2 separate regions of the Homo sapiens genome follow, and region 1 is linked to region 2. The links are contacts of gene promoters, found by promoter capture Hi-C in human tissues and cell types (Jung and others, 2019). All regions are on one chromosome and are shown on one strand. Each heading gives the region's core, a stretch centred on a gene start or on the middle of the fragment in contact. The rest is flanking DNA. Distances are from core to core; before and after follow the strand shown. Region 1 overlaps BMP2K (BMP2 inducible kinase). Region 2 holds the start of ANXA3 (annexin A3).

Region 1 (4,804 bases), core at 1,692-4,191, 310 kb before region 2:
GAATAATCTCCCTTTACTTGGACTCCAAGGCATAAAAAAAGAAAAGACTGTGGCCTAGGGCACGTTAAACAAAATAAGCCAAAACTTTTAACAGATGCCACCTGCTCACATTCAACTTCTTGAATCTTTAACTTTGCTTTACTTAGAACACAGAATGGAAAGTATATAAAATTTATCCCACTAGGACTTAGTTTAGGCCCCAGATGTGAGTGGTTAAGCAGTAAACACAGTTTTGAAATCAAGAAACAATAAATATAATTTGAGAAGACACCAACATTTGCTTTTTTTAAAAAACAAAAAAGGTAAAATATTTATATATTTATCAACTTGCTTTCTATAAATTAAGTACAAAAACTCAAATACTTGTTAATAGGACCAAATGTTCACTTTCCAACAGGATTCACAATAAAATATCTTTATTAAATCCCCTTACACATTTTCAAGTGAATACTTAAAATTTTTACATACATATGATTTATGAAGCACACATCTGCTGCATTTGCATCTATCAACAAGTGCACAGATCCAGTTATTTCCCAATATCTGTGTGTACCACAAGAGGGAGCCCTATTAACAACTATCTTTCCAAGAGGTACCAAAAAAAAAAACGTGACACTGAATCAAAAGATCTTAGAATTATATGTATGCCGTTTTCTGAAAGTAACACTTAAGCTCTAGATGGGATGGGGATGGTAAAAGACATGAAAATTTAACTAATAGGCCAAATATATACAGATATTACATATATATATACACCGATATATATATCGGTGTATATATATATGTAATCAATTATATCTTGTTTTAATGATAATCAAGTATTTACTGACATTAAATTATTGATGTGGCATTACAATCAATGCTATACTCCCTAAGCTCAAGTAATTTGGGGGAAATATTGTACACAATCTCTCTCTTTAACTATCCATTCTGTATTAAACGGCTAGTACAGGCCAGACCTGATGTTGCCTTGTTGCTGGTCTAAACCCTCTTTACAGATTCACAACACACGTAGGCATAGCAAAAGCCCTAAGAAGCATATTAAAAGTCTGTATACTTTGTTCACTCTGATGTCTCTGTTTTATCAATACAGTAATATGTATTGTACATTTACTGATATCCAGCAAAACACTGCATAACACCCTGTCTTCAAAGAATTTACAGCATACCTAGGAAGACAGGGCATATGTTAGTGGAAATGTAATAAATATAAGATAGTAAAAATCATCAGTGCCAAGCTAGTGCTGTCAAGAATTTATGGAGATGTAATTGTACTTTTAACCTAATTTGGCTACAGAAGGCTTCAGGTAGAAACTGGGGTTTAAAATTTTCATAATAAGTTTGACTTTATTAGGCAGTGACAAAGAAACCAGGCATTCTATGTGAAGGAATGGGAAGAAAATGCCTGGGCAGATTAGGCATAGGGAAGATACAAAATCGACTGAAGTTAAAAACAGTAATTATTGCATCGATACTGCTGTACAGTCTCATTTTCACTATTACAACAGTCACAGAGCTGTTTTTCTGCTTCCCTTCTTTTCTCCTTGCCATCACCTGAACAAAATCATCACAGGTTTCCTAGAACTCAGACTCACACTCTCCTGCTTAAAATCCTTCAATGTTTCCATCTGCCAGGCCAGTGATTCTCAGTGTCTCAATCTTTAAGACATGTGTCAGATAAATTTCACATCTTAAACCATACTAAGAGCAGATGCAAAGTTTGGGGAGATGAGAGCGACCTTTTAAGAAGGCAAAGAATACCACAGATTGAAGGCAGCTGAGAAACCCACAGGCGCTTTTTGAAAACGTGGGTAATGAAACTGCTAGTAAATGATTTCTCCTCCCAAAATGTGCTCTTTACATGGAAAAAACTAAATTTTTTAATATTAAGCTTTGTATACATTTAGATTTTTTCAAGTTTTCACTAATATTCATAAAGAGTAAATTTATATTAGTAACCAATAAGTACCAATCAACCTTATTTTTTAATATACATAATGTTCAGATTTAACATACTATAAATAAGCACTGTGAATTTTAATAGCACTATTTCATTGTCTTGTAACTCTAAAGCTATAACTTGCATTAGGGTGAAAAAATAATCAAATCATCATTCTTGTTCAGCTGACTTACGCTTTTTTTAAAAATCTGCACCTACTTTCTCAAAGATTTAATTATTTACTAATTATTTTAAAAAACAGAAGTCACAATAAAATTCAACTGACAAATCCTACAATAATTCATAATTAACACTCAACTATAACAGTGGATGCTAATTAAAGCTATGTCATAGATAAGACCAATTGCTGTTCAACCTGGATTCCTGCAAGTTAGATATAACTTTACACCTTCACCTCTTCTCAAAAGAACATTTTGAAATTCAAGTGAATGAAGATATTTTTAAAGTAACACCATTTTTTAAAATAAGTCATTCGCAAATGAAATTTTAACAATGTATAAGTAACAGATCATTTACAACACAGTCACAACCAAGTCTCAAAGAGTAGAACTGACTAGAAGGTTGAAAATTAACTGACCTATAGGCCAAAGTCCAAATTTCTCAGCATGATATATAAACAAAGTTGTTCATGATTGGCATTTATCTACCTCTCCAGCTTCATTTCCCACTACTCCTGTATATGTCCCCTTTTGTCCTAGTCCTGTAGTTTCACAATAGTCATTCTTGCCTAAACTGCCTGCCTGCTATAATTTCACTCCACACCCTTCCAAGTGATTGACTATTCATCATTCAAGGAAGAGTGCAGCAACTCCCATCCGCAGGGAAAGCATCCTTTATGTGCTCCTGTTTTCTCTGTTCCCAGTCTTTCCCCTCCTCCACACTCTCAAAGTAGCCTAATATCTATCAGGTTGTAATCGTTTACTTGTCAATTAGAACGTGAACTCCTTGGAAATAAAAACTGCTTTTTTTTTCTTTGTGTTTAAATTGTCTACATCTTGCATATAAAAAGCATATGAACAAATATATTTTTGTATTGTGTAAACAAATAAACTTTGCATAAATAGCATACAATACAAAATTGCTGTGACCAAGAAATCTCCCCAAATGTAGTATTATACCTGTCTGATAATCTAAGATATAATCCTGCTTATTAACTTTTAAATTCAAAAAAGTGTGAGGGGGGGAAAAATCAATCATTAACAGATTCAGTCTTAACTTACATAATATAGTTCAAACTTATTATTAATATAATAAATACTCTGAAAAATAAGATTGAAAACATATACCAGCCTTAAAAAGTATTATAATCACTCATTACAAATTCTACAAAGTACATACATATTCTATATATTCTAGTTACCTGTAGGAGCTATTTTTTTCTTTCCTTAAATTAAAAAAATAAACATCTATAAACTCAAAACATAGTATTTCCTAAACTAGAGTTGCTATGTGATGAAAATGACAAATCCTGTCCAAAAAAAAGACCCGCTGTCACATCATCAGTTAAATAATCACTTGTCATAGAGTGAACAGTTCCAGTGAGATGATGCCAGACTCCTTATCTAATATTTTTAAAAGCTTATTTTGTATTTGCTATCTCAATTATACCACATACAATAAGCAACACAACATTCTTTGTGGATGAAGATGATATTTAATCAATTACACTTGCTAGGATTAAAAACAAGACCTATCATTTTTTTTAATGCCTTTTCAATTTCAGCATAGTTTTGCCTACCTGGCTTTTATTTGGCTTTTCCTAGCAGCTGCTTCACTAGCAGTCATCGGTTCAGGAAGAGCTGAAGGAATAGAAGAATTCTTGGAAGAAAAAAAATAAAACGTCTCATTTTAGTTTTTTATTTTAATTGCAGAAAGTTTTTGTAAGCTATGGATATATCATTGAACTTTAAAAGTACTATGAGACACTATTACTTTCACATCAGATACCTATAAATTATTCACATGTATTTGCCAGATCTAATCTGCAAATATCACTACATGTTACACAAATGTCAATTTCATATTCATGTGCCACAGAAACCTTGGAAAATAAGCAGAAGAACACCACTGTATCCATTTATAATTGGGTAAATCTTGAGTAAAAAGAAAGATTATATTACACTCGTAAATCAATAACTATTTTACATTTTGGAAAAAGCAACAAACACCAAGGATAAGAATTAAGTGTTGTTTCTACATACTACAGATAATTTTCAAGACACAGAATGTAAGGCCTGGAAAATGAGGGCAGAAGGCCTTGTTTATTTGTCTATACCCAATGTTTAGTTCTTTGTAGGTACTCAATAAATACTTGCTGAGTAAATGTCGAATGAGTCTACTTATCTACTTTTAGAACTGCAAAGCTTTCAGCTTCAACAGAGAAAAGAGTACATCAATATGGCGAGGGCTTCACAAAAAAAAAAAAAAAAAAAAAAAGGAAAGGTACCACATTCCTTCTTTTTTCTTAGTGGGGTAGATTAAGTTACACATAAAGGAAACCCTACAGAAACAGGTCAGGCCAGAATGATCTTTACAAAGTCAAGAATGGCTTATAATCAGTGATGATTGCAGAACCTTTATTAAGATTGGCAGAGACTTGCCATACACCATTCACCTAAAGTAGTTAAATGCACTGTACAGTCAGTGAATAAAATTGAAAGCTTTTGAATAATACTAACTATTGCCAACTGAGCACCTTCCATGGACTAGGCACTGGGTTTCACATGTAATCCTTATAATTACTATCCTTGTTTTACAGAAAAAGAAATGGACATTAAAGTAACTTACCAAAAGATTCAAAGTCAGTCACTGATAAGGACAAAACTGAATCTGGGTCTATTTACA
Region 2 (4,281 bases), core at 1-2,500:
AGAATTACTCCACAGCGAAGGCCAAATGACTTAAACAGAATTTCAATATATCCTTTCCTGAAAGGGATTACATCATTTCCTTTTACTTCCTCCTCTACGGTTATTTCTAAACAGGTTTCTCTACACAACCACAGAGTTCTGGGAACAAGATTCTGGTTTTCTTTACATTTAAAAATTCCCTTTCTGGTCAGTCTGAAGTTTTCCGTCTTCGTGAAAACCAAAGGTGGTATCTTCATGGAGTAACGTTTTAATTAGTTACATTTTAAAAAATGATGTTGGTGAACATAGTAAATGTATCTTTCCCGGAGGGCAGGGTCTTGCTGTCAGTGCTGAACACAAATCCTTGGAAAGAATTCGGCCTGGGCTATGCAATTTCGTATCAGTAGCCAGAGGGGCCTCCAGCGACCCAGAACCTCCCAGCACCTGCATACTTTCCTATATATGGTCATCTGCAATCAAGTATCCAAATCTTCCACCTGGTGACTCAAATACCAAGGGAATGATTCATATCTAGTCAATAGGATTCTGTTGCAAAGAAAACGGTTAGTCTTTTCAGGAAAAAGCAAACTTCTTGAACTTCCAACCCTCAATATGCAAATCCACTGTTTTCTACCTTCTAAAAAAAATAAGTAAAATAAAATAAATTGCCTATGTGAGGGGGAGAAGATGCTCACAGGATGGGTGCGATTCCAAGTCCACAGAGCAGACCTCTGAGCCAGCCCCGTCTGCCATGCCGGGGACCCGAGGAACCTTCCGACTCCCAGCTTTTTTCTGTCCCCTAGACCTTTAGGACTGGGGAGGCCGAGATGGCTAAGTGGATCCCTTACGCTGCTAGCTGTAATAAGCGAAGCTTTCAGGGAGCGAGGACAGCTGAGTATCAGCTTGGGCCCCACCAAGACCTGGGTGACCCACCCATGGCACGGCACTTTCCCCCCCGTGGGCCCAGTCTCCTCGACTCTGAAATGCAGGACTGAGGTCCCTCCAGCTCCCCACCCACGCAGCTGGGTTGGGGCCGGGCGCGGGCGCCAGCCGCCAGCCCTGCCCAGGGTCGAGCTGCACTCGCGGGGGAACTGGGCGAGGCGCCGCGACCTCCCCAAGCCACCCGTCAGCAGGCGGCTGTGGGCGAGGCTCGCGGGGACGCGCCGGGAGGCTGAACTTACCCAAAGCGCGGTGGGGGAAACTGGTGTGCGAGTAAACTGCGAACAAACTGCGAGCGAAGGTGTCAGCCGCGGGCGCAGGTGCTCCGCGCTGGCTCCGGGTCCGGATCGCGACCGCACCCCTTCCTCCTGCCCCTCCTCCGGCCTCTCGACTCCACCTGATTGCGGCCCCAGGCCCCGGGAAAGGGAAGCCGCGCCCTGCTGCCGCCGGGCTCTATCCCTGTACACAGGCGCCCCAGCTCTGCTCCCTCACCGGTCTCTAAGCTTCCCCACCCTTTTCTCCCTACGCCCTCATTTCGCTCTCGGTTTCCACTACACCTTTACTTTCTCAAATGTACTGCAATGCTTATTTTGTTCTAGGCAGTGTGGATTCGGAGATTAGACTGTCCCTATACCTAAGGAACTCACTGCGTGGCATAGGTGGCGGACACCTAACATTAATAACATTGATCTGGCATTTACTTTGTACCAGGCACTGTTCTAACTTCTTTAAGAATATGCGCGGATTTATTAGGTTGGTGCAAAAGTAATTGCGGTTTTTGCCATTAAAATGGCTCCGACAACAACTCTATGAGGTAGATACTATTATCCCCATTTTATAGATGAGGAAATTGAGATACAGAGACGTTGGGTAACTTCAGCCAATTTACACAGAAGGTAAATGCCAGAGCTAGTGTTTGGAACCCAACTATTTCAGTAATTCCTCTACTAAACGTGTTGACCCTCTGGTATGAGGATTCCAACCAAAGGCTCAGGGAGACGGTAACCTGGAAGGGCATTCTAGGCATTTGGAAGAGCAAAACAAATCATCGAGGCTAAAAGGTTAAAGCCCTACTCGTATGAGGGAATTATGAGCAGTTGTGTGCTGAAGGATGTAGAAAAAGTTACCATGTATTGAGTATCAGGCATTGAAGTGCTTGAATACCTTACCTCTTTTATCTTCAAGGGAACTCTAGGAGGTGCTATTTTTATCACAATTTGCAGAAGAGAAAACTGAGGCTTAGAAAAGTGAAGTGATTTATCCGAGACCACGTAAGTAAAAAGTATTGCTTGCACTCAGTCATCACTGGGCCCCTTATGTATTCACCCGAAGGATTTGAAAACTTACCTCCACAAACACCTGCACATGGATGTTTATAGTAGCTTTACTCCTAAGTATCAAAAGTCGGAAGCAACCAAGATGTAATTCGTAGGTGAATGGATAAATAAACTGTGATACATCTATACAATAGAATTTTATTCAGCACTGAAAAGAAATTAGCTATCAAGCTATAAAAACACATGGAAGAAACTTAAATGCATATTATTAAGAGAAAGAAGCCCATTTGAAAATGCTACACACTATGATTCCAACTATATGACATTCCAGAAAAGGCAACACTACGGAGACAGTAAAAAAAATCACTGGTTTCTAGGAGTTGAGAGGAGGTAGGGTGAACAGGTGGAGCACAGAGGATTTTTAGAGGATAAGCATGGCTGGAGCTGCTTGAGTGTGAGTTGAAGAGATTACAGTCTTGGTCCTTAAGGCTGAGTCCTGGGACCTAGAAACTCATTAGAAATGCAAATTCCCTGAAACCCTGCGCCATCAAGTGATTCTGATGCATCCTAAAGTTTGAGAACCACTGGTTTAAGAGGAGCTACAACGGAGAAGGCAGAAGTGGTCATGCTTAAAAGGCCAGTGCCCTGGGAGCCCTCTCAGATCTACAAATCCGAAGTGATGGGCTTTCTGCAAGAGAGAAGATAGGATGGTGTTCTGCATTCTGTTCTGCATAGTAATTCCTGACTCCCATTCAGACTTCACCACAATAAACTGTTAAATCCCATGTTACCTCAAAAAATTCTGAGATTAGCATGAAATGGGGGAAAATATTTATTATTATTTGTGCCAGACACTGGGTAATGCACTTGACGTACGTGATCTATGTCATGCTTACCAACTAGCTGTAAATTAGGTATGATTGCCTCTATTTTGCAGATACAGACACAGGCTCAGAGGGACTCAGTAAGTTCTACGAGTTGTATTCCAGGCAACTAGGAAGTCATAGGGCTAGATTTATAGCCAGAAGAAAATGAGTAACAGGTGATGTTTTACATGTAGGCTTTATTTTAATTGTTTAAACCATTCAGGATTTAACTTCTTTGATTTCCTGATGGTAACTTTAACAAATGCACTTTTATCATTTTTTGAGTTTTTCTAGTTGTATCAACAGCCCAATTACCACCATTTATATTAGAAACATGCTATGGCATATTATAAAACTATTTTTTCCCCAAAGGATGAGTTTTCTTGGAAGGAAATATTAGAGGATGCTGTTAGAATCCAGGTTTATGGTTATCCAGAAAAAGAATTCAGAAAAGGTTATTTAATAAAAGTTTCATTATTCTGAATACACAGAACTTTACAGGTTAGTAAAAAGGGAATTTTCCTATAGCATCCTGATCAAAAGAACAATTTAACAGCCAAATACAAATTTTTAAAGCAAAGTTATTGAGATATATTTAGAACATATGGTAAAATGTGAAGGAAAGACCGACTACGTGATTGTGGCTGTTGAATACATAGCTGCTGTTACAGTGATGTGTTGGAGCTGGGTTATACCAGCATGTGAAAGCCAGTTCCTGAATTTTCAGTTATTTCACAGCCAGTATTAATGTAGACATTATTACAAGTTAAATAAATACAATTGAATAAATTACGTTAAAAGCAAAGGTAATAGGTACTCAAAATTAACCACTTCCTAATTATTTCACATTTTATTATTATTTTTTTTATTATTTATTTATTTATTTATTTATTTATTTATTTATTTTTTAATTGATCATTCTTGGGTGTTTCTCGCAGAGGGGGATTTGGCAGGGTCACAGGACAATAGTGGAGGGAAGGTCAGCAGATAAACAAGTGAACAAAGGTCTCTGGTTTTCCTAGGCAGAGGACCCTGCGGCCTTCCGCAGTGTTTGTGTCCCTGGGTACTTGAGATTAGGGAGTGGTGATGACTCTTAAGGAGCATGCTGCCTTCAAGCCTCTGTTTAACAAAGCACATCTTGCACCGCCCTTAATCCATTCAAACCTGAGTGGACACAGCACATGTTTCAGAGAGCACAGGGTTGGGGGTAAGGTCACAGA

What was found. The method cuts DNA at HindIII sites, captures the fragments that hold promoters and counts their contacts. A contact is called where the count stands out against the background at its distance.
Region 1: a fragment that was not itself captured here is called in contact with the fragment with the promoter of ANXA3 in region 2 in 1 of the 25 tissues and cell types used here (neural progenitor cells).

What each region holds. Positions count from the first base shown.
Region 1 is chr4:78,860,363-78,865,166 of GRCh38, reverse strand. It overlaps BMP2K (BMP2 inducible kinase), which reads right to left. Exons shown (of 16, transcript NM_198892.2): 9 at 3,699-3,778. Among named protein-coding and RNA genes, the nearest start is that of PAQR3, 77 kb to the left of the region's middle. RefSeq lists an enhancer at 2,418-2,712. The HindIII fragment of the contact is 4,055 bases long and covers 914-4,804 here.
Region 2 is chr4:78,548,739-78,553,019 of GRCh38, reverse strand. It overlaps ANXA3 (annexin A3), which reads right to left and starts at 1,250. Exons shown (of 13, transcript NM_005139.3): 1 at 1,161-1,250. RefSeq lists enhancers at 1-830, 134-885. The HindIII fragment of the contact is 13,286 bases long and covers 1,137-4,281 here.